Regions from separate parts of the Homo sapiens genome. Here region 2 is linked to region 1. The links are contacts of gene promoters, found by promoter capture Hi-C in blood cells and fetal thymus (Javierre and others, 2016). All regions are on one chromosome and are shown on one strand. The core of a region is centred on a gene start or on the middle of the fragment in contact, and the rest is flanking DNA. Distances in the headings are between cores, read along the strand shown. Region 1 holds the start of PXDC1 (PX domain containing 1). Region 2 has its middle 44 kb from the start of TGILR.

What was found. Contacts are between HindIII fragments. The CHiCAGO score rates a contact against its expected background, and 5 or more counts as called.
Region 2: a contact is called between a fragment that was not itself captured here and the fragment with the promoter of PXDC1 in region 1, in 2 of 17 cell types (total CD8 T cells and megakaryocytes). The highest score is 5.4, in total CD8 T cells.

The regions. Positions count from the first base shown.
Region 1 is chr6:3,748,433-3,752,969 of GRCh38, reverse strand. PXDC1 (PX domain containing 1) reads left to right here and starts at 1,257. Exons shown (of 5, transcript NM_183373.4): 1 at 1,257-1,694. The coding sequence starts at 1,439. RefSeq lists silencers at 744-913, 964-1,203, 1,954-2,033. The HindIII fragment of the contact is 5,359 bases long and covers 1-2,696 here.
Region 2 is chr6:3,953,840-3,958,568 of GRCh38, reverse strand. No RefSeq gene overlaps it. Among named protein-coding and RNA genes, the nearest start is that of TGILR, 44 kb to the right of the region's middle. The HindIII fragment of the contact is 2,069 bases long and covers 2,234-4,302 here.

The DNA of each region.
Region 1 (4,537 bases), core at 8-2,507:
CAAAGCAAAAGTCTCTCTTGACACTCTCCATCTTGACCTGTTCACCGCCCCAGACCAGGTGAGGAAATTTGAAGCTATGCTATCTGCAAGTCACTGGCGCAGTCGGAATAAAAGTTGGTCGTGGTGGGGGCGGGGGGGGGGTGGTCATCTGGGTCGGGACTGAGTCGAGGCAGGTGGGACTGAGTGGTAGGGACCTGGGGGGACATCTGGGTCGGGTCTGAGTCCAGACAGGCCACCTGCCTTGGGCCTCTAACATTTCCGCGCAGCGCTGGGCTTTGAGGCTTTCCAGAGCGCTGCCGGGGCGGGGGCGGGGTGAGGTGAGGGGCTCACCCTGGCTCTCCCACCCCTGCCTACGGGCTGTGAGGTCACTCGATTCATTTCTGGAACTAACTTGTAATTCTCAAACAAGTGCTATTAATTCTCTTCCAACTAGGAACGGCCTCAGTAACGCGCCGCTGAGTCAGTTTTCAGGGCGGGCGGTTTCCCCAAGTCCACTCCTGAGGCCCCTCAAGAGCACCCACCGCGTCCAGCTTCCCAGGGCGCTCCTTCCCAGGAGACCTTCTTTTCGCCACTGTTTTCTCCCCTCTTCCCACTTCTCCGAGGGCTGCCCCGCGGTCTGTCCGGCCGTGTCCCAGGCCTTGGCGCGGCTGAGGCATGACCGGAATGCGCGGGAGGACGCGGGGCACGGAGGGGACCTGAGGCACGGAGGGAACCCGGGGCGGGCCGGACTGGCCTGGGCCCTCGTCGGGGCGGTGCTCGACCCGGCCCGCGCCCCCCGCCCCGACACTCGCAGCCCCGCCTCCGGACCCCGGGTAGTTGCCATCCCCTCGCGGGCCGGGTGGGGCGCGCAGCTCCTAGCCCTGGGAGGTCCCGAGGATCGCGAAACGGAAAGAGAAAAAAGTCTGCGCCGAGCGCCTGGCAAGCAGGGCCCGCCCCGCCTCCCTTCCCGGCTGGTCCAGTCACCGACCTGCGGCTCCGGGGCCGCGAGGGAGGAGGCGCGGGGGGCGCGAGGCGGGGGCGAGCGCTTGGGACTCGGCCCGGCTCCCGGCTCCGGGGGTTCTCGTGGCCGCGGCAGCGCGGTCTCTGCGGAGGCGGCGGGGGCGCGGCCAGCCGGACCTCTTCCTTTCCAGAGCGGCCCGCGGCGCCCGTTCCGCGGGAGGCGGGCGGGAGGCGGACGCGGCCTAACCTCGACGTCGACTACCGCGCCGCCCGCGATGGGAAGCGCCTTATAAAGCCGCGCCCGGCCGGCCCGAGCCACTCGCCGCCGCGCCGCCCCGCTGCCCCGAACGCGGGCCATACGCAGCCTCCTTGGAGTGACGGGCCGACCCCGGACGACCCCGGCCACGGACAGACCCGGGACGACCCCGGCCGGGGCGCGCCTCCTGCGGGCGGGCGGGCGGCGGGGCTGGGGAGCCCTTGGCGGGGGCATGCGTGCGACATGGCCTCGGCGGTGTTTGAGGGCACGTCGCTCGTGAACATGTTCGTGCGCGGCTGCTGGGTGAACGGCATCCGCAGGCTCATCGTCAGCCGGCGCGGCGACGAAGAGGAGTTCTTCGAGATCCGCACGGAGTGGTCGGACCGCAGCGTGCTCTACCTGCACCGCAGCCTGGCGGACCTGGGCCGCCTGTGGCAGCGCCTGCGCGACGCCTTTCCCGAGGACCGGTCCGAACTGGCGCAGGGGCCGCTGCGGCAAGGTGCGGGGCCGGGGACGCGGGAGGGGCGCGGGGCCGAGGCAGCCTTGAAGTGCACGAAGGAGGCGGGGAAGAGACTTCAACCGAGATTGCGACTTCTCCTTTCTGCCCGCCCTGGACAGGGGACACTTGGACCCCGCGCCCGCAGACGAGGGGTGCCCGGGCGGCGGGGTTAGGGGGACGGGGAGCCAGCCTGCCCAGCCTGGGGGCGCCCCCGGCGGAGGAGCCAAATGGGGCGGGAAAGGGGCCGAGGCCGGCAGGGCGGGCGCCGGACTCTCCCTGAGGACGAGTCACTTCCGAGGAGGGCGGGGGCGCCCGGGGCTGAGCGGCTCACAGGGTCGGCCCGGCCCTAGCCCCCTGCCCGGTACCTCCCGAGGGCCGGCGGGCGGGCGCACTGGGAAAGCGTCTGGGAGCAGTTAACTGCAGGGTCCGAGCCGGGGGTCGCGTCGGGTCTGGCCGCCGCCCCGAGTTCTCCCCGCGGAGGGCGCGCCCCTGGTCTTCGAGCGCGAGGTGCCACGCAGCCCTTCCGTCCCTCCTCGGAGCGGCCGCCCCGCCCGCGGCTGCCGCGGACAGCCAGGGCCCCCCCGCACCCCCGCCAGGGCTGGTCCCCATTCGCGTTTGATCAGCTGCGCCGCCTCCTCCCCGGCCTCGTGACCGTCCTGGCTCGCGGGAATTCTTGTTTTCAGAAACCGCGGTGGCTTCCCTTTTCCTACCGCTCTGCCCGATCTTTCTTTTGGAGGCCAGGCTGAGGGGGTGGAAGCCGGGAGGACGCAAGAGAGAGGGACTGGAATTGAGACGGGAAGAATTGCGGGGTGGAGGGGGCAGGCCGAGGAGAGGGGCCGCCTGGGAGGGCCGGGAGGGGAGAAGGGGCGGGAAGACTGGAGGACTTCCGAGCAGGTCCCACCCCCCTCCATGGGTGACCACCTGTAGCTCGGAACATTGGGACAGTGGCCCAGCAGCCTTCTTTTCTGCAGTCCTCCTCTAAGCAGAGACCTCCTGAAAGCTTGGGGCCAAGTTACTGAAGCAGAAGGTGGCCCGTCCAAGTCTCCCCAGCCTCCTATCTGGCTGCGTTCTTGAGATAACCTGTGCTTTCCCCTGGCGATGGCCCCAACCCCAGTGTGAGAATTACGTGGATAATTAGCTTAGTTCTCATGACACATCTTTTGGAAGGGCTCCCACAGCCAGCGAGTTGGGGCCCTGAGCGAGAAGGCCCGCCTTTCAGGCCTCCCTCTGCTCCCCAGAGCCTCACATTTATAGCTGTTCTCCAGACAGTTGGGTGTTATTTCAAGCATGGAAGCAGTTTTCCTTGGATTTGCTGTTTGTTATGATATTTTAAATTTAACAAATCAATGCCCAAATCAGGAAAGCATCGTGAAGGAACAGCGGTTTATTCAATGACCTTTCCTGGAACGAGGCTTAAATACACTGGAGTCCCTGAGCTTCACTGTGGTCAGGCGTCTGAGCTCCGTGACCCCAGGCAGGCTGGTTGGAGCGGGATCCCCGTGGGGCTCCCCACCTGTAACTTTGTGCTTGTGGTCTCTGACGTTTGTGAGGACTGAAAGGCATGGTAGAGGGTCTAACAAGAGCAGGTTCTCCATAAATGCCAGTTGTCATTGTTACCGTCCCATCAGCTGCTTCTGGCTGGGGTTGGGCCAGACGGTGGAAAGAGGGCGTGGTTTCAGTTGCATCCACGCTGGTGGAAATACCTCACCTGGAGCAGGAGGGAGGGGCGTGCCCTGCACACACCCTGGCTCCGCCTCTTTTGCTGTCGCCCTAGTTGTGCTGGGTCTGTTACGCGGTCACAAGCTGTGTGGACACGCAGGAGTGGCTCAAAAGAGTGAAGAAAGGTTGAAGACGCGAGCGATTACCGTGGAGAAAAGGCTCAGAAGGGATATGATAGCTACCTCCAAGTACCTCAAGGGGAACAGAAATCAGAAATAGGGGTCAGAATGATGGTGGCAGGGCTGGTGGGCGGTGAGTGTGAGGTCCAGCGGCTGGGTGTAAAGGACTTTCTCACAGCACACCGTGGAACTGTTGGAGCTGCTCTCTCTGCTGGGGACAGTCTGGCACACCCTGGAGGGGGTGAAGAGGGGAGCCTGGGACCAGAACCGGGACCATAAGCCCTGCCTTCATTCTAGTCCTTGGTTTTCTGAGGGGCAGTTAGTTGGTCCCTGCCCAGCACCACCTGAGTTTTGTTGTGCAGCGCCAGGGAAGTCCTTTCCCTTTCTTTGATCCTTTTAAGTCCAGGGAAATTGTTTGCCAAGTAAAATATATCCCAGTAATGTAAAAGCAGATTGCACCTTATTTCCATGCAGATTTATTGTTTGCATAAAAAGATTATCTGGATATACAAACTATAAACACAAAAGGCAGCCAGATGTGTGTGCTTTGCTGTGCTGCAATGCCGGCTTTTCTCTGCATCATTCCCTATCACATTCCCCAGTTTACATGGATTGAACTGTTTCTGGGACGGGTTAGATTTGCATTCTCTAGTTCCATTTAAGAGATTTGTGAGGAAATCTGGATTTCTGAGCTTCTGCTGGCAGTGGGCTGGTGACTCTTGGAAGTGTCTGCACACCCTTGGAGGGTGTGGGAGCCTTGGCCCCACTTGCAGCTTTGAATCTGCTAGCAATTAAAGGGATGCTGAGCCCTTTTCTTGGTCCCTTGAGTACTGCAGTGGGGGAGAATGTGCTTTTTCTCTCTCTGCACACACACACTGTGGAGTGGTGCTTGGAGGCCATCCCTGGGCCTTGTATGTGTCACGGTGACACATCTGCAGGGATATGTCAATCCCTGCCTGGGGTGGAGGCACAGTGCTCACTAGCGCTCTCTCCTGGACTTCTGTT
Region 2 (4,729 bases), core at 2,019-4,518, 200 kb before region 1:
AACAGCCTCACCAGGCTAAGTGGGGCCTAAAAGGAAGGTCATTCACAGACAGCGCTGGGCTTGGCTTTCTGATAGCAGCTCCGTGAATCACTAACTAGCTGTCTCCGTGTCGGCAGGAGTTTGCCACTTCTGGAGCTGAGGCTGCTGCTGTGGAAACCCAGCAAGTGCAGCCTTTTTTGCCAGGGCTTGTCCTGACTCATTACTTCGACCACTACTCTCTCCCTTGTCTTACACTTCTGCCCACGCTAACAAGCATCAACAGGGACTTCTACAGGTCTCTGCAGGGGAAAAACTTTTTCCTATATGCTCTTAGGTTCAGTGTTTGGGACTCTGCAGATTAAACTGACAAAAGATAGGTTAACAGGAGAAAAGGCACACAAATTATATGTGATGTTAGTATTTTAATTTTTACATGTGCACAGGAAGGTCTCACACAAAAGGAAGTGAAAACCCAAAAAAGTGGTTAGGGCTGAGAGCTTATATACCATGTTAACAAAGGACAGTAAATTTGTGGAGAAGTGAATAAATGAAAGTGCTTGCGCTTCTAGGAGCAGTAAACCGTGGGAAGGTAAATATATGGGGGAAATTATGGGAAGTAAGTGTTATTTTAATAAGGTTTGCTTATGCAGATTCAGATTGGTGTCTGGTAAGCATCATCTCTTCCTGACATGGGAGAGGACAAGGGGAATATCTTCACAAAGGGAATTTATGTTCTGCTTTTAGGCAGAAAGGGGGCAGGTAGAGAGCTCATCTTGTGTCTGCTGTTTCTTGATTTCCTTCGGCAAAGCAATGTTTATGCCAAAGCGGCATCTTATGGAGTGGCAAACTCTCATCCCCTTTATCTCAAATTCAAATTCCCACAAAGAAAGCATCCCATTGCTTCAGATAGTCACCCTCCTTCTTGCTGAGTTGAGATCTCACATCAGTTCCTCTTCTGAGATAGGGTCTCAGCTCTAAATGGGCTGCCCTTGGGCCCAGCACCTCCTCCTGGAGCCTGGACAGTGAGAAGGCACAGTCTACTTTCTCAGAGGGCCTGTCTGAGTCACACCACTGGGAACTCTTCTCTGAATCAACAGAGGCAGAAACTGATGCCTGAAAAGGTGGGGTGGGAGGTGTTTCCTAGGAGGGTGCCCTTCAACCCTGTGATCTACGTCTCTGAAGCATGTCCTTGCCTCAGTATTGAGAAGTCTGTCTAGTTGGCTTGTTTCTTTCACCTGCTCAAATTGTTTGGGTTAAGCCTGCAAAGCCTGGATTAATAGACACATTTGGCTAACAGAATGTTTACACATATTATCAAAATAATTTATGGTTAGAATTTAAGGTTGTTTGATATCACTGGACACTGAACAAGTGGGCCCCCACAACATAGTGTTTATTTTCATTTTTTCATAAACCTAGATAAATGAATTGCTGTTTTAAAAACAAATACGTAACACAAGGGCAACTGGTATGAAGTTTACCAGAAGTCGCGGTTAGTTAGAAGCTATTATTAATTTTTTTAGAAGTTTGAAGCAAGGCAATGTGGAACATTTTATTTATTCCATTGATATTTATTGAGAATCAACTATGCACCGGGCACTGTTCTAAGCCCTGGAGATACATCAGTGAACCAGATAGACACATTTCTTGCTTTCATGGAACTTAAATAGTATATGTAATCAACCTGTTTTTCCATTTTTTAGAACAATGAAGAGTAGGGCAGGAGTGGAATGAGGGTCAAAAGTAAGCCTTGGAGTCCTGCCCCAAAGTTTTCTAATTAGATTATGAAGGAAAGACCTTATGCAACTAAATTACCCATTTGGGTCAGGTGTAGTGGCTCATGCCTGTAATCTCAGCACTTTGGGAGGCCAAGGCAGGAGATCACTTGAGGCCAGGAGTTCAAGACCAGCCTGGCAAACATAGGGAGACCTCATCTCTATAACAAATTTAAAAATTGGTAGGGCATAATGATGTGCACCTGTGGTCCCAGCTACTCAGGAGGCTGAGGTAGGAGGATCATTTGAGACTGGGAAGTCGAGGCTGCAGTGAGCTGTGATCGCGCCACCGCACTCCAGCCTGAGAGACAAAGGGTCATTTGTGTCCTATTGATATTTGTAATAATTAATGGTCTTGTTGCCCCTTAGGGTTGCTTCCTTTTCCTTTTCCCTCACTCTCATTTTCCCTGACTAAAAAGGAAAAAAACTCAACAAATAACTAGTAGCTGGCATGTTAATTATTAGATCACTTTTAAGCTTTAATAAACCCAATGATGTATGATGAAACCTCAGGCCCCATAGCCTGAGTAGGTACCAGTTTCATCACAAAAGACCCATTGTTGCCTCAGCCAGTGTTCATTGAGTTATGCAGCCCCAGGCTAGCATGAAGAACCCTGCCCTACCTCCAGCTCTGATTTACTTTATCTGAAGCAGATTCATCGCTGCTCACAAAATGAGTTCCTTGCAACCCATTAAAATCCTCAAAGTACAAGGCCATGAATGGGGCACTCCTTCTTGCTACTCTCAGCAAATTAGCAACCTGATTCTAAAATTTATGCAAGACGCAAAAGGCCAAGAAAAGCCAAGACATCCTTAAAGAACTAAAAAATAAAGCACTCGAGAGAAACTAAGACTTAATATAAAGCCACAAGAATTAACACAGTAACATTGAAACAAGAATAGAAAAGAGAGCAATGGAAAAATCAAAGTCCAAAAACAGAGCCACACATATGTAGGTATGTGATCTATGACAAAGAAAGTATTGGCCGGTGGCTCATGCCTGTAATCCCAGCACTTTGAGAGGCTGAGGTGGGCTGATCACGTGAGGTCAGGAGTTCAAGACCAGCCTGGCCAACATGGTGAAAACTCATCCCTACTAAAAGACACAAAAATTAGACGGGCATGGTGGTGGGCGCCTGCAATCCCAGCTTCTCAAAAGGCTGAGGCAGGAAAATTGCTTGAACCCGGGAAGCAGATATTGCAGTGAGTCGAGATCGCGCCACTGCACCCCAGCCTAGGCGACAGAGTGATACTCTGTCTCAAAAAAAAAAAAAAAAAGTATTGTAAGCCGGGCACGGTGGCTCATGCCTGTAAGCCCAGCACTTTGGGAGGCCAAAGCGGGTGGATCATCGGAGGTCAGGAGTTCGAGACTAGCATGGCCAACATGGTGAAACCCCGTCTCTACTAAAAATACAAAAAATTAGCCAGGCGTGGTGGCACGCACCTGTAATCCCAGCTACTCGGGAGGCTGAGGCAGGAGAATCACTTGAACCCAGGAGGTGGAGGTTGCAGTTAGCCAAGATCGTGCCATTGCACTCCAGCCTGGGCAATAAGAGCAACATTCTGGCTAAAAAAAAAAAAAAAAAAAAAAAAGAAAAAGAAAAAAGAAAGTATGGTAGACTAGTGAAAAAAATACATTTAAAAAAGTAATGGTGCAAAGTCATTTGAACAACTATATAAAAAAAAGAAAACCTTGGAACATATACCATCTACAACAATCAATTTCAGAAAGTAACTTTAAAAATAAATGTTTAGGTGGGCCACAGTGGCTCATGCCTGTAATCCCAAAACTTTGGGAGGCAGAAGCAGGCAGATTGCTTGAGTCCAGTAGTTTGAGACCAGCCTGTCCAACATGGCAAAACTCTTTCTCTACTAAAAATACAAAAATTAGGGGAGTGTGGTGGCGTATCTGTGGCCTCAGTTACTCAGAAGGCTGAGGTACAAGAATTGCTTGAACCATGGAAGTGGAGATTGCAGTCAGCCAAGATTGCACCACTGCACTCCAGCCTGGGAGACAGAGACTCCATCTCAAAAAAAAAAAAAAAAAAAAAAAAAAAAAAAAGAATATGAATGTTTAACAAATAGCACATAAGAGAAGATACATTATTTTTATAATATCAAGTTAGAGGAAGATTTCTTAAACAGATCACCAAAAAAAAACAGTACTTATAAAGAAAGAGATTGGCGAATTGGACTACATTCAAATTAAGAATTCCTGTTTATCACCTCTATGCATACAAACTAGAAAATCTAGAATAAATGGATAAATTCCTGGACACATATACCCTCCCAAGACGAAAGCAGGAAGAAATTGAATCCCTGAACAGACTCTGAAATTAAATCAGTAATAAATAGCCTACTGACTACAAAAAGGCCAGTCCAAGATAGATTCACAGCCAGATACTACCAGATGTATAAGAAGAAGCGGTATCATTCCTACTGAAACTATTCAAAAAAATTGAGGAGAGACTCCTCCCTCACTTTTTCTATGAGGCTAGCATTATTCTGACACCAAAACCTGGCAGAGACACCACAAAAAAATAAAGCTTAAGGCCAGTATTCTTGATGAACATCCATGCAAAAATCCTCAACAAAATGCAGGCAAACCAAATCCAACAGCACATCAAGAAGCTTATTCATCACGATCAAGTAGGGTTTATCCCTGGGGTAAAAGGTTGATTTAACATACTCAAATCAATAAATGTGACTTATCTCATAAACAGAACTAAAGACAAAAACCACATGATTATCTCAATATATGCAGAAAAGGCTTTTGATAAAATTCAATACCCTTTCATGTCAAAAACTCAATAAACGAGGTATTGAAGGAACATATCTCAAAATAATAAGAGCCATCCATGATAAACCTACAGACAACATCATACTGAATGGGGAAAAGCTGGAATCATTCCCCTCGAGAACTGGCATAAGAGAAGGATGCCCGCTCTCACCACTCCTATTCAACATTGTATTGG